Regions from separate parts of the Homo sapiens genome. Here regions 1 and 2 are each linked to region 3. The links are contacts of gene promoters, found by promoter capture Hi-C in blood cells and fetal thymus (Javierre and others, 2016). All regions are on one chromosome and are shown on one strand. Each heading gives the region's core, a stretch centred on a gene start or on the middle of the fragment in contact. The rest is flanking DNA. Distances are from core to core; before and after follow the strand shown.

Evidence for each region. The method cuts DNA at HindIII sites, captures the fragments that hold promoters and counts their contacts. A CHiCAGO score of 5 or more calls a contact.
Region 1: a fragment that was not itself captured here is called in contact with the fragment with the promoter of PNPLA4 in region 3 in 1 of 17 cell types (total B cells); the score reaches 5.2 in total B cells.
Region 2: a contact is called between a fragment that was not itself captured here and the fragment with the promoter of PNPLA4 in region 3, in 1 of 17 cell types (total B cells). The highest score is 5.9, in total B cells.

Annotation. Positions count from the first base shown.
Region 1 is chrX:7,226,244-7,229,375 of GRCh38, reverse strand. All of the region lies in intron 2 of STS (steroid sulfatase), which reads right to left. Among named protein-coding and RNA genes, the nearest start is that of PUDP, 80 kb to the right of the region's middle. The HindIII fragment of the contact is 1,237 bases long and covers 667-1,903 here.
Region 2 is chrX:7,259,315-7,262,709 of GRCh38, reverse strand. It overlaps STS (steroid sulfatase), which reads right to left. Exons shown (of 11, transcript NM_001320752.2): 6 at 2,938-3,361. Among named protein-coding and RNA genes, the nearest start is that of PUDP, 110 kb to the right of the region's middle. The HindIII fragment of the contact is 2,959 bases long and covers 464-3,395 here.
Region 3 is chrX:7,925,962-7,929,343 of GRCh38, reverse strand. It overlaps PNPLA4 (patatin like domain 4, phospholipase and triacylglycerol lipase), which reads left to right and starts at 1,931. Exons shown (of 7, transcript NM_004650.3): 1 at 1,931-2,058; 2 at 3,212-3,382. The coding sequence starts at 3,225. It overlaps LOC107985675 (a long non-coding RNA gene), which reads right to left and starts at 1,844. Exons shown (of 5, transcript XR_001755784.2): 1 at 1-1,844. RefSeq lists enhancers at 1,324-1,403, 1,744-1,793, 1,814-2,053, 2,284-2,513, 3,176-3,225 and a silencer at 3,202-3,382. The HindIII fragment of the contact is 3,086 bases long and covers 1,303-3,382 here.

The DNA.
Region 1 (3,132 bases), core at 36-2,535, 700 kb after region 3:
GAGTCTCACCAATGCTCAGATCCTAAGCTCTGCTAAAGGGAAAGTGTGGATCCCCTCTCAAAGCATCTGAAGCCAAGGGGGTGAGCGGAACCTAATTAAAACCAAACAAATCACAACCACACTGAAATGGCAGCTTACCAAGGGGCCACACAGATGAAGCGTGTGATGTTTTCTAGGCGAAAATATGACTGACTCGGTCTCCACTATTTTTTATAATCAATGTCTATTATGCATGCATATTTATGTTTGCACGTATGACATGTGAAATAGCAGGAGGTATGCAAATGTTAGATATTTCATCTATATCCTTTAAGACATCCATAGGAAATCCATAAAAGAATCTAGCAGGAAAGGCAAACAGCATGTGTTAAGAGATGGGGAATTTCAGTGGCAAGATGAAAATACAAAAGAAGAAACAAACAGAAATGCTAGCTATAAAACAAAATAGATGTAACATCAGAAATAAGAAGTTCATGTCATGGGCAAAGAAAAGAATCAGAGACCTTGAAGACAGGTCAAGAAAATTATCCAAATTAAAATGTAAAGAGTAAAAGGTAAAATGAAGCAACTATTTCTATTCATCAAAAGATACTTTTAAGAATGTGAATAGGCTTCAGGCCATAGAAGCAAAAACAGACAAGTGGGACTACGTCAAACTAACAAGCTTCTGTGCAGCAAAGGAAATAATGGAGTGAAAAGGCAACCTATGGAAGGGGAGAAAGTATTTCCAAACCATATACTGATAACCATATATCCCAAATATATAATGAACTCCCAAACTCAATAACAAAACTACAAATAACCCAATTAAAAAATGGCCAAAGGACTTCACTAGACATTTCTCCGAAGAACACATACAAATGCCAAGAAGCACATGAAAAGATGCTCAACATCACCAATCATCAGGAAAATGCAACTCAAACCCACACACAATGAGAGATCACTCCACACCTGTCAGAACAGCTGCTCTTAAAAAAACAAAAAACAAGAGACAAGTGTTAGTGGGGATGTGGAGAATTTCTTTGCACATGGCTGGTGGAAATGCAAAAAGGTGCTGTTGCTACGAAAAACAGTACAGAATTTCCTTGACAAATTAAAAAATGGAACTACCTTGTGATCTAGCAACCCCACTCCTGGAAATATACCCAACAGCATTGAAATCAGGATCTCAAAGACATATCTGCACTCCTCTGCTCACTGCAGTACTATTCACCATAGCCAAGATATGGAAGCAACCTAAATGCCCATCAACAAATGAATGGATTAAAAACAAAAAAAAACATGGTCTATACATACAATGGAATACTATGCAGCCTTAAAAGGAAGGATATTCTACAATATGCAACAGCATGGATGAACCTTGAGAACCTTATGTTAAGTGAAATAAGCCAGGTACAGAAAGACAAATTCTGTATGATTCCACTTACAGGAGGTATCTAAAGTAGCTAAATTCATACGACCAAAAAGTAAAGTGGTGGTTTCCAGGGGATAGGGGAAGGGAAAATGGGGATTTATGAGTCAGCAGGCATAAAACTTTAGGTAAGCAAGATGGATTAAGTCCAGAGACCTGCAGTCAAACATTGTATCAGCAGTCGACAATACTGTATTGCACACTTAAAATTTTAAGAGGTTAGATCTGATAGTATTCTTATCACTATCAAATAAAAACATTTTTTAAACATATTGCATGGAACAATGACAATGGCAAATACTAAGGTCACCGTTCATTATTTCACATCTTTATGTCTATTCTAAGACTTTTGCTTGGAAACTTGGCCTAATAATATGTGCTTTCCTTAATAACTATGTGCTTGGAAACTTTCCTTAATAATACAAATATCCATGTTTTTTATTCCAAACTCTCAAACTAGCATATTGTCTCATCAGATAGCAAAATAAAGCTTGCTTTTATAAAAAAAAAAAAAAACAACGATTTGAACAAGGCTAATAGAGTAACTAGAACTGAACAATGGCTATAGAAAGGTTTTAATTTACTTTTTGGGGAATGATTGGTTTTTTTAGATGCTTCTAATTTATCATCAAGTGAAGAGAGTGGGACTATTGAGAGGATACATGAGATAAAATAATTCAAAGTAACATTCAATTTTTTAAAAATTAAGGAAAAAGGAATATAGATAAGCAACATAGACCAGGGAAACTTATTTGTAAGACAATTATTTTTTAAAGGATTTATATCCAGAATATGTAAAGAACAAATCAATAATAAAAAAGGAATGAAACAATGAAATGGGTAAAACAATTGAATATGCACTTTATACAAGAAGATATACAAAAGGCTAATAAGCAAATAAATAGGTATTCAGCCTGATTAGTAATCAGAGAAGTGAAAATTACCACCATGAGATAGCATTTTACAACCCCTACGGTGGCTAAAATAAAAACAAAACAAAACAACGAAAAACGGAAAATATCAAATGCTAGTGAAGATGCAGAACAAGTGGAACTCTAAGTTTTTTTCTTGAGACAGGGTCATGCTCTGTCACCCAGGCTGGAGTGCAGTAGCACGAACAAAGCTCACTGCAGCATTGACCTCCTGGGTTGAAGCAATCCTCCCAACCTCAGCCTCCCAAGTAGTTAGGACTAGAGGCAAATTAGCCACCACCCTGGCTAATTTTTTTATTTTTGTAGAGATGAGGTCTTACCATGTTGCCCAGGCTGGTCTCAAACTCCTGGGCTCAAGCAATCCTTCCACCTCAGCCTCTCAAAGTGCTGGGATTGCAGGCATGAGCCACCGTTCCTGGCCCCTAGAACTCTTATATATCACTTGTTGAAGTGTAAACTCATGCAAACGTTTTAGAGAAAAGTTTGGCCATTTCCTATACAATTGAATATACATGTATCTTACTGTCAAGCAATTACACTACTCGATGTTTAAACAAGAGAAATAAAACTATCTATCCACCCAAAGCCTTAGTCACAATAACCAAAAACTGGAGACAATCCAAATAACTATCAACAGGAGAATGCATAAACAAACTCTGGAACATCAATCTAACCTAAGACTACTCAGCCATGAAAATAAATGAACCACTGATACATGCAACAACACATAAGAATCTCACACACATTATGTTGAGTGAAAGAGGTGAGACCCCAAATAATCTATATGGC
Region 2 (3,395 bases), core at 694-3,193, 670 kb after region 3:
TTCTCTCCAGCTGTTCATGAGATTTCCATGGGGCTTTATTAAATGTCAGCAATTTCCAAATGCAGTCCTCTGTTCCAGGTTCACCCAAGCACTGCAACTTTTATCCCTCTGACATACTTAGCTTCTCATAAAATTTCATCTGAAATATTCCTCAGCTTTAAAACAAATTTGAAAATCACTGTTTGCAGTAGGAAAATCACTGCTATATGTTCAGCAAGGCCGTTTCATTTTCTTCTTCCTGAAGACATGGGGAGACTGCCTCTTAGCCCCATGTCAAGTCAGGGTGGAGACATGGGGCCTGGTCTACATGCTGACCCCTGGGTCAGTGAAGTAACAAAAAGCCCCCAAGGGACCCTTCAACTCTTTTCTCCTGTGGACGCTACTGGGAAGGCCATCTATTGAGATGACAGAACCACAAGATATTAGCAACCTGGATCCCTGAGTCTCCTCATGGAGCAAAGCTTCCCTAGAGCATCACCCAACCAGCAATAGATTTTGCATGGGCAAGAAACAAATCTTCAAGTGTTAATCCACTGAGATTTTGTCAGTCTTCACTGACAAAAACAGAAACTGGCAGCAGAAGTTGGATGTTAACCAAAATAAAAACTTAAATTGTGTGGTGCTCCCTCAGCCGTTGGGCAGCTAGTACATAGAATACTCTCTGGAGCCAAGTCCCAGAGGCTGAAACTGAGAATACTTAAAATGACCAATGACCAGTTTATATATTTCACAGTTCAATGACAATTTAGATTTTAACAAAATCTGTCAAAACTGAGAGGCGGTGTGAACTATAAGAACTAATCATTCTATTTGTGTCTCATTTTTAGAAGGAGGAAGTGATACTATCAATTGCAACTTTTGTGTAAGTCACTTCGTAGTCTGTTCAGACACCCAAACCATATGTGGGCTTCTGTCAGAGTTGATGAAACACTTTTGTGATACCAGAGAGATATACTAAAATACACCCTATGATTTATCTATTGCATAATCCGTGATGTTGTGGGTAGCAGGACACTGTTGTACCTCCAGGTGAATGGGTTGCTCCTATGCTGTTTCATAACTGGAAGAAGAGAGTGAGGAGAACCACTGCCCATTCCCAACCTCCAGTAAAGCATCAACTCCAGGCACACAAGATCTGGACAGAGGAACACAACATCTTCCATGTGAGGAAATGACAACATAATTTTCATAGAGTACGTTACCTTTTACCTTTCTCACCAGCCCTAACTTATGTAGCTTCCACATACCTTAACTATGTATTCTCTTCTTAGGCTGAGCATATTTGCTTGTTTTTAAATTAAATCCCTAATATAGTTTCCCTTCATCACAATAACTTCCTTTTCATTGTCATTCATTGTTCAATCCAGAGATTGATTTTACAATTTTGTGTCATGCAATTAATTGGATGACAAACCAATATTACCTATATTTCCTCTGTCTCCTTTATAATTTTTAAATCACCCTCCCAACTCTCTTTTACATCTCTCATAGAGTTTAAGTCACCATAAAGACCAAACGTCTGATTTTCAGATGAACTTTCCATTTCTCTTTAGAGTCCTGTTCTCCACAGTTACAAGTGGAACAAAATACTTTTATTTGCTTGTTTTGAATAGCAAGTGTTTTTGACATAGCCTCTATATAATATCTACTTAATTATATCTACTTATGCTCTCTATATTATGTATTATAATATAGATATATATTATACCTACCTATGTAATTCAGGAATGCTGTCTGCTCCACTGTTGATGGTTATTCCATTTACAGATTGCAATCCCCAAAACTATAAACTCAATGGGACCTGACAGACCCAAGAGACATCATTCACTTCACCCAGTTTACTCACAGAGGTTTTTGTTTTGTTTTGTTTGCTCAGAGATTAATCCAAAATATTTTGGATCTTTCCACATTGTTTATATCACAAGGACAACCTATAAACTAAACATAAGCCATTATCTTGCCTCTCTTGATGGCCACATTTGAAAATTAAAGACCAGTGGGGCTGGGTACTGTGGCTCACACCTGTAATCCCAGCACTTTGGGAGGCCGAGGTGGGTGGATCACCTGAGGTCAGGAGTTCAAAATGCAGACTGACCAAGTTTGTGAAACCCTGTCTCTACTAAAAATAGAAAAAAAATTAGCCAGGCATGGTGGCAGGCACCTGTAATCCCAGCTACTCAGAAGGCTAAGGCAGGAGAATCACTTGAACCTGGGAGGTGGAGGTTGCAGTGAGCCAAGATCGCACCACTTGCACTCCAGCCTGGGCGACACAGAGAGATTCCCTCTCAAACAAACAAACAAACAAAAAACCAGTGGGATATCTGACACCTCCTTTGTCATCAGCAGACATTAATTTGCCATGGGCCTTTCCAGCCCAGGATGTGGGGAATGTTGGCAAAGAGACTCTAAGGAGAGCACACTGCATTGCAATACCTTTCTAAGGCCATTAAACATGTGCTATGGCGAGCTCTGGCTGAAGAAATGTGTTAGGCATGGAAGGGAAAATGTGGCTAGCATAATAACCCTACCAGTTCTGGCTGGGCGTGGTGGCTCACGCCTGTAATCCCAGCACTTTGGGAGGCCGAGGCGGGCGGATCACGAGGTCAAGAGATCGAGACCATCCTGGCTAACACGGTGAAACCCCGTCTCTACTAAAAATACAAAAAATTAGCCAGGTGTGGTGGCGGGCGCCTATAGTTCCAGCTACTCAGGAGGCTGAGGCAGGAGAATGGCGTGAACTCGGGAGGCAGAGCTTGCAGTGAGCCGAGATCACGCCACTGCACTCCAGCCTGGGCGACAGAGCAAGACTCTGTCTCAAAAAAACGAACAAACCACAAACAACAACAACAACAAAACCCTGTTGGTTCTTCCACCTCCACGAGAAATAACCCAGAATGTTTTTTAACAGGCAGCATCAGAGGACAAGGCAATACCCACCGCTGTATGAACTGGGCCGCCTCCACCGTTAGCCTCTGGGTGAGATTGTCATAGGACATGGGCTGCTGAATGATCTCGTAGTTCCTCATCATGAAGCAGTTCAGGGGCCGGAAGTAATGAAGGAAGCCCAAGAAAAGGGTCAGGATTAGGGCTGCTAGGAAGAGAAGGCTGAAAAAAACGCCTAGAGGCACGTGGAGTAGCCCCAGACAATTGAGTGCAGCAAGGGTAAGGAGGGTGACCCCGACGATCTGCAGGGGGAGGAAGACCAGCCTCTTGAAGCCCGTGGTGAAGACACTGCCCTCTCCGGGCTTGCAGTCTCTCAGATTGGTCAAAGAGATCCCATAGAAATAATTGAAGCCGTGATGTAAAGGGTGGTGACAGAAGTCAGTCTTGCTGTGACAGCTCATCCCAAGGTGCCATTTCCCTGAGAAGACAAATGGGGGATCACTTCAGTCCCA
Region 3 (3,382 bases), core at 682-3,181:
AGATATCAAAGTTGTGGTGTTCATCCAGGCTGCCCGGTGATAAAGTTTTCACCTGTCTCCTGAATCGACCTGCTGACAGTGTCCAAATGCAGGAAATAACTTGCTCTGTAAACAGCATCCCAGATTCTGGTTCTGTAAATCCAGTCTCTCCTTAAACTTCTGATGCCACCACATCACTTTAAACCAGACCACCTGTCTTAATCCATTCAGGCTGCTATAATAAAGTAGCATTGACTGAGTGTTTATAAAAGAAATTTATTTCTCACAGTTCTGGAAGATGGAAGTCTGAGATCAAGGTGCCAAGATGGTCAGGTTCTGAGGAGGGCCCTTTTCCAGTTTGCAGATTGCCATCTTCTCCGTGTACTTTTATCCTTACATGGTGGAAAGAGACCTCTCTGGGGTCCCTTTTCTAAGAGTACTAATCCCATTCATGAGGGCTTCACCCTCATGACTTAATTACCTCCCAAAGGCCCCACCTCCTAATACTATCACCTTGGGGGTTAGTATTTCAATATGTGAATTTTGGAGGTATACATGCAAACAATAACACCACCAAAGGAGTTAGACCACTGCTTCAGGATTCTGTTAAAACGCAGATGCCGACTCAGATCAGAGATGGGACCTGGGATCCTTCCTTTCTCATGAGCTTCCTGGAAGATGCAGTTCTGGGGAGGATCACACTCGACCTTAAAGAGCTAGAAGATTGTGGAAGGTTTAAGGACTGGAGTGTGTCCTGTATTTTCCTAATGTACGTTGTGCCTTCCCTTCACTAAATTCCGGTAGAGGTAAAGAATTCTGAGTAATGCAGTCATTCTACGATAAGGCAATAAGGTGTTTCAGGATCAATTTTCTCTAAAGAATAGTTATGTGAATTAAAAACATCTTCCCTAATCGTCACATCAAGGACTCACAGGTGTTGTTGGCCAGAGACGATACACCAAAACAGAAAGAAAAAGCCCAAACCAGAGGCAATTTGGAGAGCTCCACCCCTCCTCCCTGTTTTGTCTAAGGTAGAGACATTCTCGCAGACGCTCCTTTGTAGCCTCAGAGAAAGTAAATCTCTGCCCTTAAACTAGGGGACCTGGAGAGCCTTCAATCACGAAGTCAGGGATTCCTCCAGGCTTGGTTATTAGGATTAGATAAGGAAAACACCGTTTGGGGAGAGAAAGAATTATCAGAGTCCTTTAAATCTTGGTGGGCATGGCAGGCATCTTGGCGGTCGTTGAAGCTGCTTAAGTCTGAGCCAAAGGTGCCAGAGGACAAAACAGCCACCTGCTCACGGCCCCCTATGTGGAAAAAGCTTTCCAATTTAGCTCTCTCATTTTAGCATCTCAATCTGCACATAAGGCACGCGGGAAACTCAGAGAGGTTATGCTACCTGCTCAAGGTCACACAGCCTAAGGTCAACTGAGGATATGAAAGTTCCCCAGAGTCATAGTCCAGCTTTTCCTTTAGATAGCACTTCTTAAAAAAACCAAAGGCACGCCTTGAAAAGCTGCGGGATGTCCAGCCCCAAAATAGCCGCTGGAGTTGGCCCCTAGGGGCAGCTGGACCGCCCAGGCGGGCGAAAGGGTGGAGAGGGAGAAGAACCACTTCCGGGAAACAGACGCGAAGAGGGTAAGGCACTTCCGGGGCACAGAAAATGAGGATTATTAAAGGTCAGTTGCTCGCAGGTAAGGGCCAAGTAGCGTTAAAAGACACGTAAGGATTACAACGCCTCTCTAGGGTGTGGGTTAAAATGTCTCTCTAGGTACTCGAAGATAACATGACTCTAAACGAGGAATCCTTGCCTGCGCTGGAGGACGCTCCGGTCTAGCGGCCAGGTTGAGTCCAGAAGTTTAAATAGAGCAGGCGGGGCCTAGCGGGCGCCTTCGTCGGCGCGATGACGTCACATACCTGCGCGGGAGGCGGTACCAACCCCTGCCGCAGGACTTTCCTGGGCCGGCTCGCGGAGAGCGTAGCGCGGCCTTGGTGGCGGAATGGCGTTGAGTGACGGCCCGGCCCCGCCATCTGGTTAAAGGGACTCGTTCAACACGGAAGTGTCCCGGGGCTGCATTGGTACGGAGCCCTGGGGCCCAGCAAGGGTGTGCTCCTGCGGGACTGATGCGGGGACCACCCCGGCCCTGCCGGCCTCCAAGCCGCGGGAGGGCACTGAGCCTGTGCTGGCTGGGCCTGGCCGCCTGGTTGCTACACACCCAACCCCCTTCCCGTCCCCATTTGCAGAAGTGGAATCAAAACTGGGGCTTGACCCCGGATCGATGACTGGGACTCAGCCTACGCGGACGCCAGCGCAGCCTGCGGCGGCCGAGCCACCTGCCCTCACAGGGCCTGGCCGGGTGCATCAGGAACAGGCGGTCTTAGGTCCCTAAATTCGAGGCCCTGTAATGTGCCTCATCTTGGGGTCCCTGAATGGGGCCCTTGGGCCCCCAAGGAAACCCTGAGACCTTCAGAATGGACAGCCTTGTGGAGGCACAATTTCATTCACTTGGGCAAATTGTGCGCACTGAGGCATAGGAAAACATGTAATTTTGTATTTAGATGTGTTCCAAGTATAAAGTGGCGTGGCTGACATTTCATAGAGCCTTAAATTGCCTTCACCAGGCATGACCTCAGTTTGTGTTGAGATACTTGGCAAAGAAATGTATTGCATTGTTGAGTGATTGCTTATTGCGTTACTGAGTAATTGTATTGGCGTTCATAAAAGCATGGGTGCTCACAATAGAAATTGGGAAGGGGAGTAGGGAACTGTATTTGAAATCTTCTGATACACTTACCAAGAACAAATGTATTGTTCATTTGGAATTTGATACGGTCTCTAATAATTTTCTGTTTCATAATGGTAGTGCCGCCCCCACCCGCAAAACGTTTCAAAGGGTCAAGAGAAAAGACCAAATGCCCTTGTCAACTGGAATTTATACGTCTGTTTCCTGCCAAGTAATTAAATCGTAGATTCATAATCTATGTACCGAATAAATGTGGAATGTTTTTGTTTTGTTTTGTTTTAATGTATAAGACTTGGGTCAAGGTGAGGAGGGAAAGAAAGGGTTTCCTTGAAAGATTCTTGTGTTTAATTAGAATTAATTGAAACCACTGTGCTTAAAACAGAGAATGATGTTAGAAGAAAGCCTTGGAACGATGATCAACATAAGACTACACAGTATGTGGGATAAACTATTCCAACTTACAGCATTTTTGTTTTTTGTATTGCCAGTGCTACAGCTAGAATGAAGCACATCAACCTATCATTTGCAGCGTGTGGATTTCTGGGCATTTACCACTTGGGGGCAGCATCTGCACTTTGCAGACATGGCAAAAAACTTGTGAAGGATGTCAAAGCCTTCGCTGGGGCGTCTGCGGGATCGTTGGTTGCTTCTGTTCTGCT